Regions from separate parts of the Homo sapiens genome. Here all the other regions are linked to region 1. Evidence: promoter capture Hi-C in 16 types of primary human blood cells and fetal thymus (Javierre and others, 2016). All regions are on one chromosome and are shown on one strand. Each heading gives the region's core, a stretch centred on a gene start or on the middle of the fragment in contact. The rest is flanking DNA. Distances are from core to core; before and after follow the strand shown. Region 1 holds the start of SGMS2 (sphingomyelin synthase 2). Region 2 overlaps CYP2U1-AS1 (CYP2U1 and SGMS2 antisense RNA 1). Region 3 has its middle 34 kb from the start of PAPSS1.

Region 1 (4,378 bases), core at 747-3,246:
GGTACTGTCGTAGGACAGCTCCCAGATCTTTCACCCTGTAAGTTGTTATAGTTATGGTAAGAGCAAATGTCTTCAATAACGTGCACAAGTGCTAAAGTTTCTTCCAAACATTTCCTAGGGCTTTTATGAGATTCTGCGAGGGGAGAAACTCAGAACAAGGTGCAGCCACCTCAAGGTGTCCAAGTGTTTCCCTCTAGGTTCACAAGTCAACTAGCTTTACTTAAAAATGAAACCAAAGGAACCAAATTAAACATTAACTTGTTAAAAAAAAAAACACTTCAACCAGACTATTGTGAAGTAAGAACATTAGAAGACCAAGGAAAGGGCCATAAAGAGGAAATTTTGCACTGCTTGCACTGCTTCTTTAGGAAAAAAAAAAGGTAAAGGTAAAGTTAGCTTCCTCACGTCCTTTCTTCCTGTAAATTCCAGGTTGTCACTTTCAGCCATTGCTCTGACATTGTTTAAACAGTAAATGGCAGTTCCCATGACACAGGATGGAAACCATAACCTTCTCAGGTATCCGTACTAAAAATGTTTAACTTGCTGAAAACATCACTTCCCAATCTAAGGAACTTGCCAAAGGATTTCACATGCTAACCCTCGGCCCACCAGGCTTATAAGGAGGACATTCTGTGGAAATTAATTGGTTATTACCTAAGCCAGCTGCAACACACTATTATTTATATATAAACAGCTATAATTTGTTGGGGTCTGCTTTGTACCAGACATTATGAGAAGTCTTTTGCGCTTTAATCCTCATTATTATCCTCATTATTAATCCTTATTTAATCCACCTTATTATCTGAAGTAGCTATAATCCCATTTTACTGGTTCAGAATGTTTAATGTGCCTGAGCACCCACCGTTAATAGAGGAGACTGGTAATGAAACCAAGGATTTGAAAAGTTAGGTACAGATTGAAAACCCACGCCGAATCCAGTGACACTAAACAGTTGAATCTCTTCAAAATATAACACACATGTCAAAATGATTTTAAGGTCATTTCAGAGCAGGCAAGACTTGAAATAGAGGACCGGCAACATTAATAAATAAAAAAGACTACAGGACATAACATTTTGAGTTGGTTTCAAGCCGTGGATAATTAATGATTATCCATACCTCTGGATGGATGTTGACAGGGGTTCCCCGCCCCTTATTTTCGCTGAGAAACCAAGTCTTCCCTTCCGTAAAGGGAGCAGCTCTGGAATGCCACACGTTGAAGGGTTTCGGTGTGGGCTGCCCAGAGCTGGGCTGTTACTGTTCACACATCATCAGTAAGTGCCTCTCAAAAAAAAAAAAAAAAAAAAAGAGAAAGAAAAGAAAAACCACACACACAAACACACACACACAGTCCCTCCTCCACCAACTGAACTTCAGCCCTGACCTCCGGAGTGGTTCTGGACAATCTGGGGTTTAACCTGTGCCCTTCCAACGCCAGGACCGGGGTACCCGAAATGGGTTGCAAATGAATGAGATGACTGCTCAGAGGAAGGAGACTAAGGCACACATCTCTCCTCCAGACCACAAAATCGAGGAAGCATGCCCTGGGCGGGGAGGGTGGGGGCCGGATTAGAGCCACGTCCCCGCTTCGCAATCCACCTTTCCCCTCCCGCGCTTCGGAGGACTCTCCGCTCCCCAGCCCATCCTCCTCCTGGCCCCTCCGCGCGCTCCTTACCCGCTGGTGGCCAGGGCTCCAGACACTCCCAGCTGAAGGCACTTGCTCCCGGGAAGGGGATTTGCCAGGGGATGGAGCCCGCTGCCGCAGCCGCCGCGACCAGCCCCGGGCGTCACCACCCTCGGGCCGAAGCCGCTAGAAAGTTTGCTCGGGGTCTCGCCCTCCCACGCCGCGGCCTGACTAGGGGAAGCAGCTCTCCGGGTCCCTCCCGCGGCCGCCGCCCCCGAGGCCGCACTCGGCGGCGCTGCAGCACCGGCCAGGCTCCGTGCGCGCCGAGGGCTGGGTCTCCCCGCCCCACTCGGCCCACGGCGCGGCGCTCAGTGTTGACCGCGGCCCCGCGCCCGCTCTCCCCGCCCGCCGCGCGCGGCCCGCTCCCTGCGCCCTGCGCCCAGCGCGCTCTTGACATCATTCATTCTCTCACACCCTCGCCCGCCCACTCCATTTCCAAACAGTGACTCACCCGTCGGCCCGGTGGCAGCAGTGCCCGTTCCTGCTGCCGTGGCTCTCCTGGCGCAGAGTGGAGCTCGAAAAACCTGCGCGACTTCTTAAGAAGAAAATCCCAGCCGACTCTCCCCTCGCGGCTGTTTAAGGTGCAGAGAAGGAGGGGCTTGGCAGGCAGGGCAGTTTGGCTCCCGGCCGAAAGGCTGAGGGCCTGGAGCTGACCTCCCTGAGCGGCAACAGAGATCAATCTGGGAAAGTTCTTTGGGTGCCACTCCCAGCAACTTTCAGGGGTGGGGCTGGAACGGGATCCCCCACCCCCGCACCCGGCCTGTTTCGGAAACTGCTTCCTGACGGCGTGTGAGTGGGCTTGGGAGCGCCAGCGTTGATTCAGAGGGTTTATCGGTGTTGACCGGGCCTAGGTCAAAGAGGTGGGTTTCCAAACCTCACAGCGTTGCCTGGCAAGGTTAGTCATCAGTCCGCATGGTATGAGCTGGAAGGTTGCTCCAAGCTAATGAGGTGGCAGCACTGTCCCTTTCGTGCCTAACCATCGTGTCATTTGTCCTGTTAATTGATTTACTTCTCACTTAAGGAATCGTAACCAAAATAAACAGTGTAAGTAGTTATTTGCTTAACTGAATACTGCGCTTTTCCGCAGCTTTTGGGGCCCAAGGCAGCCGTGTGGTTTCTTCGAAGGCCTCAGTAGTTTTTTAAAAGGGGGATTGCTGTCTTTAAAATGGTAATGGTTCTACATTGTCCTGGAGTTGCTATTCATACACCTGCTGGGCAGTTTTCAAAGTAAACGATGGCAGCCTCAAGGACTCTAACTAGGAATGACCAATCCGAGGGAATGTGGCTAAATCTTTCTTGACATAAGTTTTACATTAATGTCTCCTTCTGGACAAGATAATTATGTTTAGGATTTGCGCTGGTTTATGGGTGCTTCCATATAATCAACAAAAATAATGACGGGAATCTTTGGGTTTCTAGTGCAGATATCATGTGGGTCAACAGTCATTTGTGGCTATTAAAGATGATGGTAACAGAAAAGAATATACAAGGCAGGCAATCCCCAAACTCGCAACTTCAAGATGTCGTCACAGTACAGGCAACCAAAGAAAATGGACAAATGGGATCATATTAAGCTAAAAAGCTTCTGCACAGCAAAGGAAACAAACTGAAGAGACAACCCACAGAATGGGAACTATCCATCTGACAAGGGATTAATAACCAGAATATATGAGGAGCTCCAACAACTCTATAGGAAAAAAAAATCTAATAGTCCGAGTAATAAATGGGCAAAAGATTTGAATAGACATTTCTCAAAAGAAGACATACAAATAGCAAACAGGTATATGAAAAGGTGCTCAGGCAATAAATACTGGCGAGGTTGTGGAAAAAAAAAGGAACCCTTGTGTTTGTGGGAATGTAAAAAGTATAACCACTATGGAGAACAGTATGGAAGTTCCTCATAAAACTAAAAATAGAGATACCGTATGACCTAGCAATCTCACTGCTAGGTATATATGCCCAAAAAAGGAAATCAGTGTATCAAAGAGATACCTGCACTCCTATGTTTATTGCAGCACTACTCACAATAGCCAAGGTTTGGAAGCAACCTAAGTGTCCATCAACAGATGAATGGATAAATCGTTACATATACCCATGGAGTACTATTCAGCCATAACAAAGAATGAGATCCTGGCATTTGCAACAACATAGATGGAACTAGAGGTCATTATGTTAAGTGAAATAAGCCAGGCACAGAAAGACAAATTTCACATGTTCTCACTTATTCATGGGAGCTAACATTTAAAACAATTGAACTCATGGAGACAGTAGAATGATGGTTACCAGAGGCTGGGAAGGGTAGGGGGGATGGGTAATGGGTAAAAAATATATATATAGTTAGATAGAATGAATAAGGTATAGTATTTGATAGCAAAACAGGGCAACTACAGGCAACAGTAATTGTGCATTTTAAAATAACTAAGAATATAATTGGTTTGTAACATAAAGAAAGGATAAATGTTTGAGATGGTAGATATCCCATTTACTCTGATGTGATTATTATGCATTATGTGCCTATATCAAAATATTGTGTGTACCCCATAAATATACCTACTATGTACCTACAAAAATTAAATTTAAAAAAATTTTTTTGAGATGGAGTCTTGCTCTGTCGCCTGGGCTGGAGTGCAGTGGCTTAATCTCAGCTCACTGCAACCTCCACCTCCTGGGTTCAAGCAATTCTCCTGCCTCAGCC
Region 2 (4,378 bases), core at 652-3,151, 92 kb before region 1:
ATCCTCTGAGAACTGCCCAAACTCTGATATTCTCTCCAATATATAGGCAGGTTATTAAAAAATCAACTCACTAGTTACTGGTGAAATACAGTAATTTTGTTGGTGGTACAGGATGGTACTAAACATATTGTGTCACTGTGCTGGATCAGCTGGAGTTATTAGATTGGTGCAAAAGTAATCGTGTTTTTTGAAATTAAAAGCAATGGCAAAAACCGCAATTACTTTTGCACCAACTTAATACTTGGGACTGGGATAACAGGATCACTCTTAATCCCATGGTCAAGGGTGCCATAGATTAGTGAATGAAATCTTCTCTTTTTATTAGAAAAAAGACATTTCCACACTAGCAATTCATCATTCACTTTTCTGGAAGTTTCTGGAGAGATTACGGCTAAACAATTCATGTATCTGATTAGTGTGCACAATGTGGGAAAGGCAGGCAGAGTGGGGGCTTTGGAAACATAATCTGAGACATATGACATTAAAACTCATTGACAGTGAGTTTGCTTTATTCTAACAAACTTGTGGGTTCAGACACTCGAGGATTCTTGAGGAGTTCTTTTGCCTTCAAGGCCATTTTGCACTAGGAGCCAACTTTTCTCCCCTTTGAAATTAGTAAATTGTAATTTTAAGAAAAATCTGTAGCATGTGACAAAGAACCTGTCCCAAGGACAGTTTGCTTCTGAAACTAATTTCCTAACAAAACCCTAACTGTGATGGTGACCATAGTAATTACGACAGGGAGGCAGCAAGCTACAGCCCACAAAAACAAAACTCAAGTTCTAGCTCTAACATTTATGAACCCTTTCATGTCATAAAATGGGGTCACCTTCTCTTGCCTTGCTTACTTCACAGGGTTTTGTGAAGATTAAAGAATGTATGCCAAGCGTTAACTGTAAAATGCTATGTTTGATTACAGGTGCCACATATGGATTAAATGTGCATTTTATATATATATATATCTATATACATACACATAGTAATACATAATCCATTACTATCCTAACTTAGATTAAAAAATGTATGCCAAGCGTTAACTGTAAAATGCTATGTTTGATTACGGGTGCCACATATGGATTAAATGTGCATTATATACATATATCTATATACACACACAGTAATACATAATCCATTACTATCCTAACTTAATACAGTATTATGCTTCTGATATTCTTATTTATTAGAAGAAAATAAAATTTACATGTCAATTCGTGAAGCATCTATGACTTTACTTACAAGCCCACAAGTTAGCCTGTTCCTGTTTCATTGGATGCTAGAAGACACAAGACTCCTGAGTCAGAGACAAAGGACTTCACTACACATAGCATAGCAGTATCCAAAGTGTCAGCATGGTCCCTTTGGCTCCCTTGTCTCTCAAATCCCATGGGGATGACTTGGAGAGGTGAAGACAGATGTTACATATGCAGTGGGTTTTCACCTCAACTGAGGACCACTGAGCTTCGCATTTTTACTGCTTTACAGTAAACAGAAAAAAAGACTTCTCTTTATTTAGGGTGATATGCTACCTCATTACTTAACATTGCTTACTGCAAATACAATCCTGAGAAATGGCCTGGGTAACAGGAGTTAGGGCCTTGCACTCAGCATGCCCAGCAAAAAATGTGCTGGATGGATGCTCAGAGCCCATGGCACATTACCTCTCCCAACCTTTGGATGAGATAAAACATGACCTCTCCCAACCTTTGGATGAGATAAAATATGACCTCTCCCAACCTTTGGATGAGATAAAATTTGATGTCTATTGTGCAATTTTGCTAAAATATTAAATAGAAAAGAATGGTAAAATTCAGTGACAATGCATCCAGAAAAGCAATTCACTTCCACTTCTGAAACATCTAGCTGGCTATGAAGGCCCTGACCAACATTTCCTAAAACTTACAAACATTTCCTAAGACTTGCATATATTTTATGCAATTGAAATTCTTATGATGTGACTTAGGAGTTATGGGCGAGTCTTATAGTGCAGACATTTCCACTTAAATGTCAGGAATTTTATGTATCAGCAGCTCTAGTGTATGGCACACAGAATCACTCAAATGGTTGGTGAACATAGTCTAGTTTCCTGTCTTCCTGTGTCTCAGCAGGAGATTCAAAATATCAGGGAAGATGAATATTATCAAAAGTTGTGGCGACCTCTTAATAGCATGATCATCTGGAGAGACTGAAGGCATTACGCAGGGTCAAGACTGTAATGACCTGCAATCAAAAAACCTTACAGACTTGAAGCTGAGTCTGTCGTTAAGTAGACATATAGATCATATAGATACTTTTCTATCTTTAAATGTGGTGGGGATGAGATGGGGGTTGAAGTAAGCGAATTTAAATTCACTTTCTAGTGAGACTAGCATCTAATCCTGGTGGCAAAACTTGTTTGGACACACCACTACATTCTAATTCTAAAATCAACAGCTGTGAGGTAGAGATCTCAAACCAAGCATGAATGATCACCATTCTTTTTTGTTTTAAAGTGGTTTTAATTACTTAGGAAACTTGCCCATGATTAGTGTGATTGAAAATGCCACTTTAACTGCAGTTGTAAAGTGCCTATTGATTCCTTATTGGAGTAAGAGACAGAGTACTACTTTAAAAAACTTCACTATCCTCAGTACTTTCAAAAATGCCCAGAGAGTTTTATCCTCTCGTAGGAGGCACACTCAAGAGCTTTTGTATGAAGAAAACAAATGGAACCCAGAATGAATTAGCCCCTTAGTAAAAGTTCCTGTTAGTCCCTTGCACGATGAACAAGAGTTCACGTTAGTTTCTTGCACGATGCATTCTAGATAAGGGCAGACTTTGAAGCTATATGGCCAGCAAAATCAGCATGCCAGTGTTTCCACAGGATGATGGGAACGTCACTGTGATGAGCTTTTCATCCAAGGTCTGGGTGGAGGTGGCAGAAAAACTATTCTGATCTATGCTCCATCATTTCTAGATAATCTAAGGATAAAGCCTGGACTATCTCCTGTAACTTACTCTTTGAACCTTATTATCTTATCCTATTCACTTCACCCCAATGAATTGCTTTTACAAAATTTATCTTGGAGGAGGGGCATTTGTCATCAGCAGATTCAAAACCTACTTACCGCACCTTGCTGTTGCAATGTCTAGCAAACTCCAGTTGAGGATATTACCTTAGGCTTCTGTCTTGTGAAGGCATAAGGAGACCTAGTGACAGAAAGGGGTCTGCTTTTCATGAGTGACTTTGTCCTCTTGTGAACAATGAAAATCAGAATCATGGAATGTGTGATTATTTTCTTCTCCATGAATGACCTTGTATTGTTCTGAATTATTTTTCACCTTAAATCCACTAATTGAAAGTTATTACTTTATTTTAAAAATAGTGCTTGAAGAAAATATCCCTCTTGCGGTTTTAACAAGTACTCTAAAACTAGAACTCTTTTAAAAATGACACATTTTGTAAATGGAAAGAAACAGTAATATTAATTTTGAAAAGACTGTTGATGTCACTGTGGTTTATTAGGTAAATACAAAGTATAGGCTCTTGCATTTTTTAAAAAGCAAAACCAAAGAGATTAGAAACCAAGTACACATATCCTCTTTAGAAGAGAAACATAAATCAGTTTTAACAATTAGGCACTTAAAAATGTAAATGTAAGACAACATTATAGAAGTATAAACTATAGTTACACTCCTAAATTCCTCCTGAAATGTTTACAAACACAAAATCACAAGCATGGAAAACAAATTTCCTCTTTATCAAAAAAGGAACCTGAATTTGAATCCAATGTGATAAACCAATGATTAAGGTACTGGTGGGTAGGAAAAAAGAGCTTCTGAAATTTACATATTTGATTAAAATGTAAGCATTTCATAAAACTATCACAATAGCATACAGTAGATATCATAATGAAAAATATATGTCAGGAAAATAATGAATCTAGACTTAAAATTTTACTTTACAACAAGGCACTTAACACATTGAAACAGTACAGTAAATTTCCAAAAGAATGCAATTGGCTACCTCTGAAACCTTGTAATAATATTTCTTTTGTGAATATACGGTAACATAACCATACATTTTGCAGCATTAATCATTGCATAGGAGGTAAATTAAATAATGAATTCTAACTTGGCAATTAGATTAGTTTTTGTTCATCGTTTCCTCTTTTTCTTTTAAAGGACAGTTTTAAATAATTTCACAATAAAGCACTCTTCTCATTCATGATTTATTTAGAACACAGCATAATGAGTAAGAAAATAAATCAGAACTTATAAGGTGTGTATCTGTATAAAAACTTATCTTTGGGTAACATTGACATGATTTTCAGTGTTTGGGTGTTGAAGTCAAGAGCACTTCTTAATAGAAGAAATATTTTCAGCAACTGAGTCAAAGGAG
Region 3 (4,378 bases), core at 1,019-3,518, 71 kb after region 1:
TCTGTGTGAGGGCTCAAATCCCACATTTCCTCTCTGTACTGCCCCAGTAGAGGTTCTCCACGAGGGCTCTGCCTTTGCAGCTGAACTTCTGCCTGAACATCCGGGTGTTTCCATACATCTTCTGAAATCTAGGTGGAGGCTGCTAAGCCTCAACTCTTGCCCTCTGTGTACCACAGGCTTAACACCACGTGGAAGCCAAGGCTTAAGGCTTGCACCCTCTGGAGCAGCAGCCTTAGACATATCTGGGGCCCTTTTAGCCATGGCTAGAGTTGAAGCAGTGGGGATACAAGAAGCAGAGTCCTCAGGCTGCACAGAGTAATGGAGTCCTGGGCCTGGCCCACAAAATCACTCTTCCCTCCTAGGCCTCTGGACTTGTATTGGGAGGGGCTGCCTTGAAGTTCTCTGAAATGCCTTTGAGGCATTTTCCCCATTGTCTTGACTATTAACATTCAGCTCCTCCTTACTTATGCAAATTTCTGCAGCTGGCATGAATTTCCCCCGCAAACAAATTTTTTTTTTCTTTTCTAGCACATGGTCAGGCTGCAAATTTTCCAGACTCTTACGCTCTTCTTCCTTTTAAATATAAGTTTCAGTTTCAGATAATCTCTTTGCTCACATATATGAGCCCATTCTGTTAGAAGCAGCCAAACCACATCTCGAATGCTTTGCTGATTAGAAATTTCTTCTGCCAGAAACCCTAAATCATCTTTCTCAAGTTCAAAGTTCCACAGATTCCTAGAGCAGCGGCACAATGCCACCAGTCTCTCTGCTAAAGCATAGCAAGAGTGACCTTTGCTCCAGTTCCCAATAAGTTCTTCATTTCCAGCTGAGACCACCACAGCCTGGACTTCATTGTTTATATCACTACCAGCATTTTTAACAGGTCTCTAGGAAGTTCCAAACCTTCCCTCATCTTCCTGTCTTCTTCTTTGCTCTTCAAACTGTTCCAACCTCTGCCCATTAAAAAGTTCCACAGCTACTTCCACATTTTGAGGTATCTTTATAGCAATGCCCAACTCCCAGTACCAATTTTCTGTATTAGTCCATTCTCTCATTGCTATAAAGAACTTCCTGAGACTGGGTAATTTATTTAAAAAAAAAAAAAAAGGAGGTTTATTTGGCTTATGGTTCCACAGGCTGTACAGTGATCATGGCTAGGGAGGCCTCAGGAAACTTACAATCATGACGGAAGGTGATGAGGAAGGAGGCATATCTTACATGGCCAGAGCAGGAGGAAGAGAGTGAAGGGGGAGGTGCTACACACCTTTAAACAACCAGATATTGTGAGAACTCGCTCACTATCATGAGAACAGCAAGGGGGAAATCCTCCCCCATGATCCAATCACCTCCTACCAGGACTCTCTTCCAACATTGGGGATTACAATTCAACATGAGATTTGGGTGGGGACACAAATCCAAACCATTATCAGCCAGGTATTATAAATGTTTTGCATATAATGCATATTTGACTTTTAAAATTATGCCGTTAATTACTCCCATTTTACAAATGAGAAAATTGAGGTACAGAAAACTTGCAAAGCTGGTAAGTGGCAAAACTGTGATTTGTGTAAACCAAGAGACTGTCCAATGTCCGTGTTCTTAATCTAGGAGGGCTATACTTATTCCTACAGTAAGTACAGAATTTAGGTTGGGGTCACTGTATAACATTCAATATAAAGTTTAGTCAACTATCCAAATAATTTTGACCCAATTTTATTATTAGGATCTAGTGTCTGCACTGGTAAACTCATCTAACGATTGCTCAGTTTTCTCTTTTACACCATGCTATACTTGTGGTAAATTTCAGTACATAAATTTGTCTTTCCAATATAAATATTTTAATACTCCTCTTTCATTTGTAGAGTATGTACATTAACTTCTTTGATAGCAACGGTAAATTTCTTCTCTGCAAATCTTGGTCCTCTTTGTTATCTCTGGTACAGTTATGGTCACTGTTACAAGCTGATCTGTGTCTCTGCCAGATTTATATGTTGAAGTCTTAATCCTCCAGTACCTCAAAATGTGACTGTATTTGGAGACAGCGTTTTTAAAGAGGTAATTAGAGTGAGTCCTAATCCAATATGACTAGCGTCCCTATAAGAAGTGGAAATTTGGACACAGATGGCTGCAGAGGGAAAACCATGTGAGGACACAGGGAGAACATGGCCACCTGGACAAGGAGAGGGGCCTCAGAAGAAACCAACCCTGAAGACTCCTTGATCTCTAACTTCTAGCCTCCATACCTATGAGAAAATAAATTTCTGTTGTTTAAGCCACTTACTCTGTGGTAGTTTGTAATGGCAGCCCTAGAAATTTGATACAGTCACTGTTTCAATTAGGGTCTTTGTTTACAAATTAAGATTCTTGCTAGTTTAAGCAGAAAAAGGATATTTCTTAAGGAATATTAGATAGCTCAGAGAGTCTTTGGAGGGTTAAAGAGTTGGGTTTGGAGGCTATGCAGTCAGAAACAATGCTCTAACCACATTGTGAGATTGTGGCAGTAAAGGCTCTGATGCAACTGGACACTAAAGCATACACCACTCACTCTGGATATGAAACATCAGGAATTCTGTCATTCTGACCTTGAGAGATGACATCTCAGCAGCTACCTATGCCAAAATGTGGATTTCCTTCAGCTCCTGCCTTGCCATGTAGCTCATTTCTGGGATGATGTCTCACATGGGTGTGTGTGATTGGGGTAGCCTAGGTTATATGCCTGTAGCTTCGCCGCAAGTGAGTGTGGCAAAGTGAGCTTTCTGGCTTCTACCATGTGGAGGTGGATTAAAAGGCAGAAAGTTGCCTAGATGTGGAAAGGGTGCTCAAAAGGTGATGCTAGGTCAGAAAAGGCAAAGGAAATCAACTGTAAAACTTCAGTAGTATGATTTTTTGGCCAGTTGCTCTTTGCTACTGTCCCTGAGAGCTAGTTATCTTTTCCACAGTCCTTAAACTTTTCTTGAATCTACTTTTTTTTTAACTGAATAAACTCTCCCTTCTCTAGAATTCAAATAACTATCAAGTACAAATAACTGAATCTTCCCACCCCATCCTATTGTATACCCTTCTAAGAAAGAAATTAAGCAGGTTAATATGAAGGTGCTATTTGTCAAGTATTTATCCCTCCCAATATTGGTAGAAGAACTTCCAACTTTCCTTAGTGAATTATTCCATTTTCCATCTTTTCTTATCATTTGTGTGGGAATAACATCTCCTACTGTGCAGCCCCTCCCCAAGTTCCAGAAGACCTGTGGCTTAGTCTGGCCAGTCAGAACATTCCATACACTGCCCTCACCCCAGCCTTGTGATAAGTTCTAGAATAGGTGGGTTTATTGTCAAGGACAGAAAGATAAGATGCAGTCCCTGGACACCTCCTAGCATGACAGACCTGCATCTCTCTGGTTCCTGTCTTTCTGCTGAAGTTTTTAGTCTAGGATGGCAGCCTGGAACAGCTGCGGGCCAAACTGATATTCCTCATTAAAAACTTTTTCCAGAGTAAAGCTGACACAGATGGACGGAGAGCTGAGGGATTCATAGAAACAATCCTCATGTCTTCTGAGCATTCAAACCAGCTGTGTTAGAAGTTTGTACTACATCTAAACTTTTCAGTTCTTTATGCCTATAAAGACACTTTCGTCTTAATTGCATTTGAATTGTTTCACTCACTTGTGACCAAAGGAGTCCTGACTAGTTTGATTGGTTAAAGAGTAATCAGTGCAGATTTTCCCCCCAAATTCTGTTTTAACAGACATCTATAGTATCTCTACCTTGATGTCCAAGTGAAAAAATAACTTGGTCTTATTTTTATACAAGTATGTACATAAGTATGTATTGTGTATACCTATACCCCCATACTCCTCCATGCATAGACACAAAGTAAAAATGGAATTAACATATCAAAGATTTTATCCATCTTGGGTTCTTTCTCTTTAGATAAAATATCATTTTTTTAGGATTTGATGAGAGGTAAAACATATTTGCATATGTTTTTCTGTAGTTTTTGCTTTATCTAGGTTTACTCCTGTCATGGTTAATTTTACTGTCAACTTGACCAGGCTAAGAGATGCCCACATAGCTGGTAAGACATTATTTCTCAGTGTGTCTGTGAGGAAGTTTCTGGAAGAGATTAGCATTTGAATTGGTGGACTGGGAAAAAGAAGACACACCTTCACCCATGTGGGTGGGCATTGTCTAATCCTTACAGAGCTCAGTAAAACAAAAAGATGGAGGAAGGATTAATTCACTCCCTCTCTCTCTACTTCTTCTTTTCCCCCCAGAGAAGGTCAGGTCTCCCTCTCTCTCTCAGGTTGGAAGGCAGTGGCATGATCATGGCTCACCACAGCTTCAACCTGTAGTGATCTTCCTGCCTCAGCCTCCTGAGTAG

What was found. Contacts are between HindIII fragments. The CHiCAGO score rates a contact against its expected background, and 5 or more counts as called.
Region 2: a contact is called between a fragment that was not itself captured here and the fragment with the promoter of SGMS2 in region 1, in 3 of 17 cell types (M0 macrophages, monocytes and M2 macrophages). The highest score is 6.7, in M0 macrophages.
Region 3: a contact is called between a fragment that was not itself captured here and the fragment with the promoter of SGMS2 in region 1, in 2 of 17 cell types (M2 macrophages and monocytes). The highest score is 5.9, in M2 macrophages.

Annotation. Positions count from the first base shown.
Region 1 is chr4:107,822,550-107,826,927 of GRCh38, reverse strand. It overlaps SGMS2 (sphingomyelin synthase 2), which reads right to left and starts at 1,996. Exons shown (of 7, transcript NM_001375905.1): 1 at 1,675-1,996. The HindIII fragment of the contact is 3,698 bases long and covers 1-3,267 here.
Region 2 is chr4:107,914,131-107,918,508 of GRCh38, reverse strand. All of the region lies in intron 1 of CYP2U1-AS1 (CYP2U1 and SGMS2 antisense RNA 1), which reads left to right. The region is part of intron 1 of LOC107986298 (a long non-coding RNA gene); the gene reads left to right. It overlaps SGMS2 (sphingomyelin synthase 2), which reads right to left. Exons shown (of 7, transcript NM_001375905.1): 7 at 3,462-4,378. Among named protein-coding and RNA genes, the nearest start is that of CYP2U1, 15 kb to the left of the region's middle. The HindIII fragment of the contact is 6,871 bases long and covers 1-4,378 here.
Region 3 is chr4:107,752,289-107,756,666 of GRCh38, reverse strand. No RefSeq gene overlaps it. Among named protein-coding and RNA genes, the nearest start is that of PAPSS1, 34 kb to the right of the region's middle. The HindIII fragment of the contact is 7,632 bases long and covers 1-4,378 here.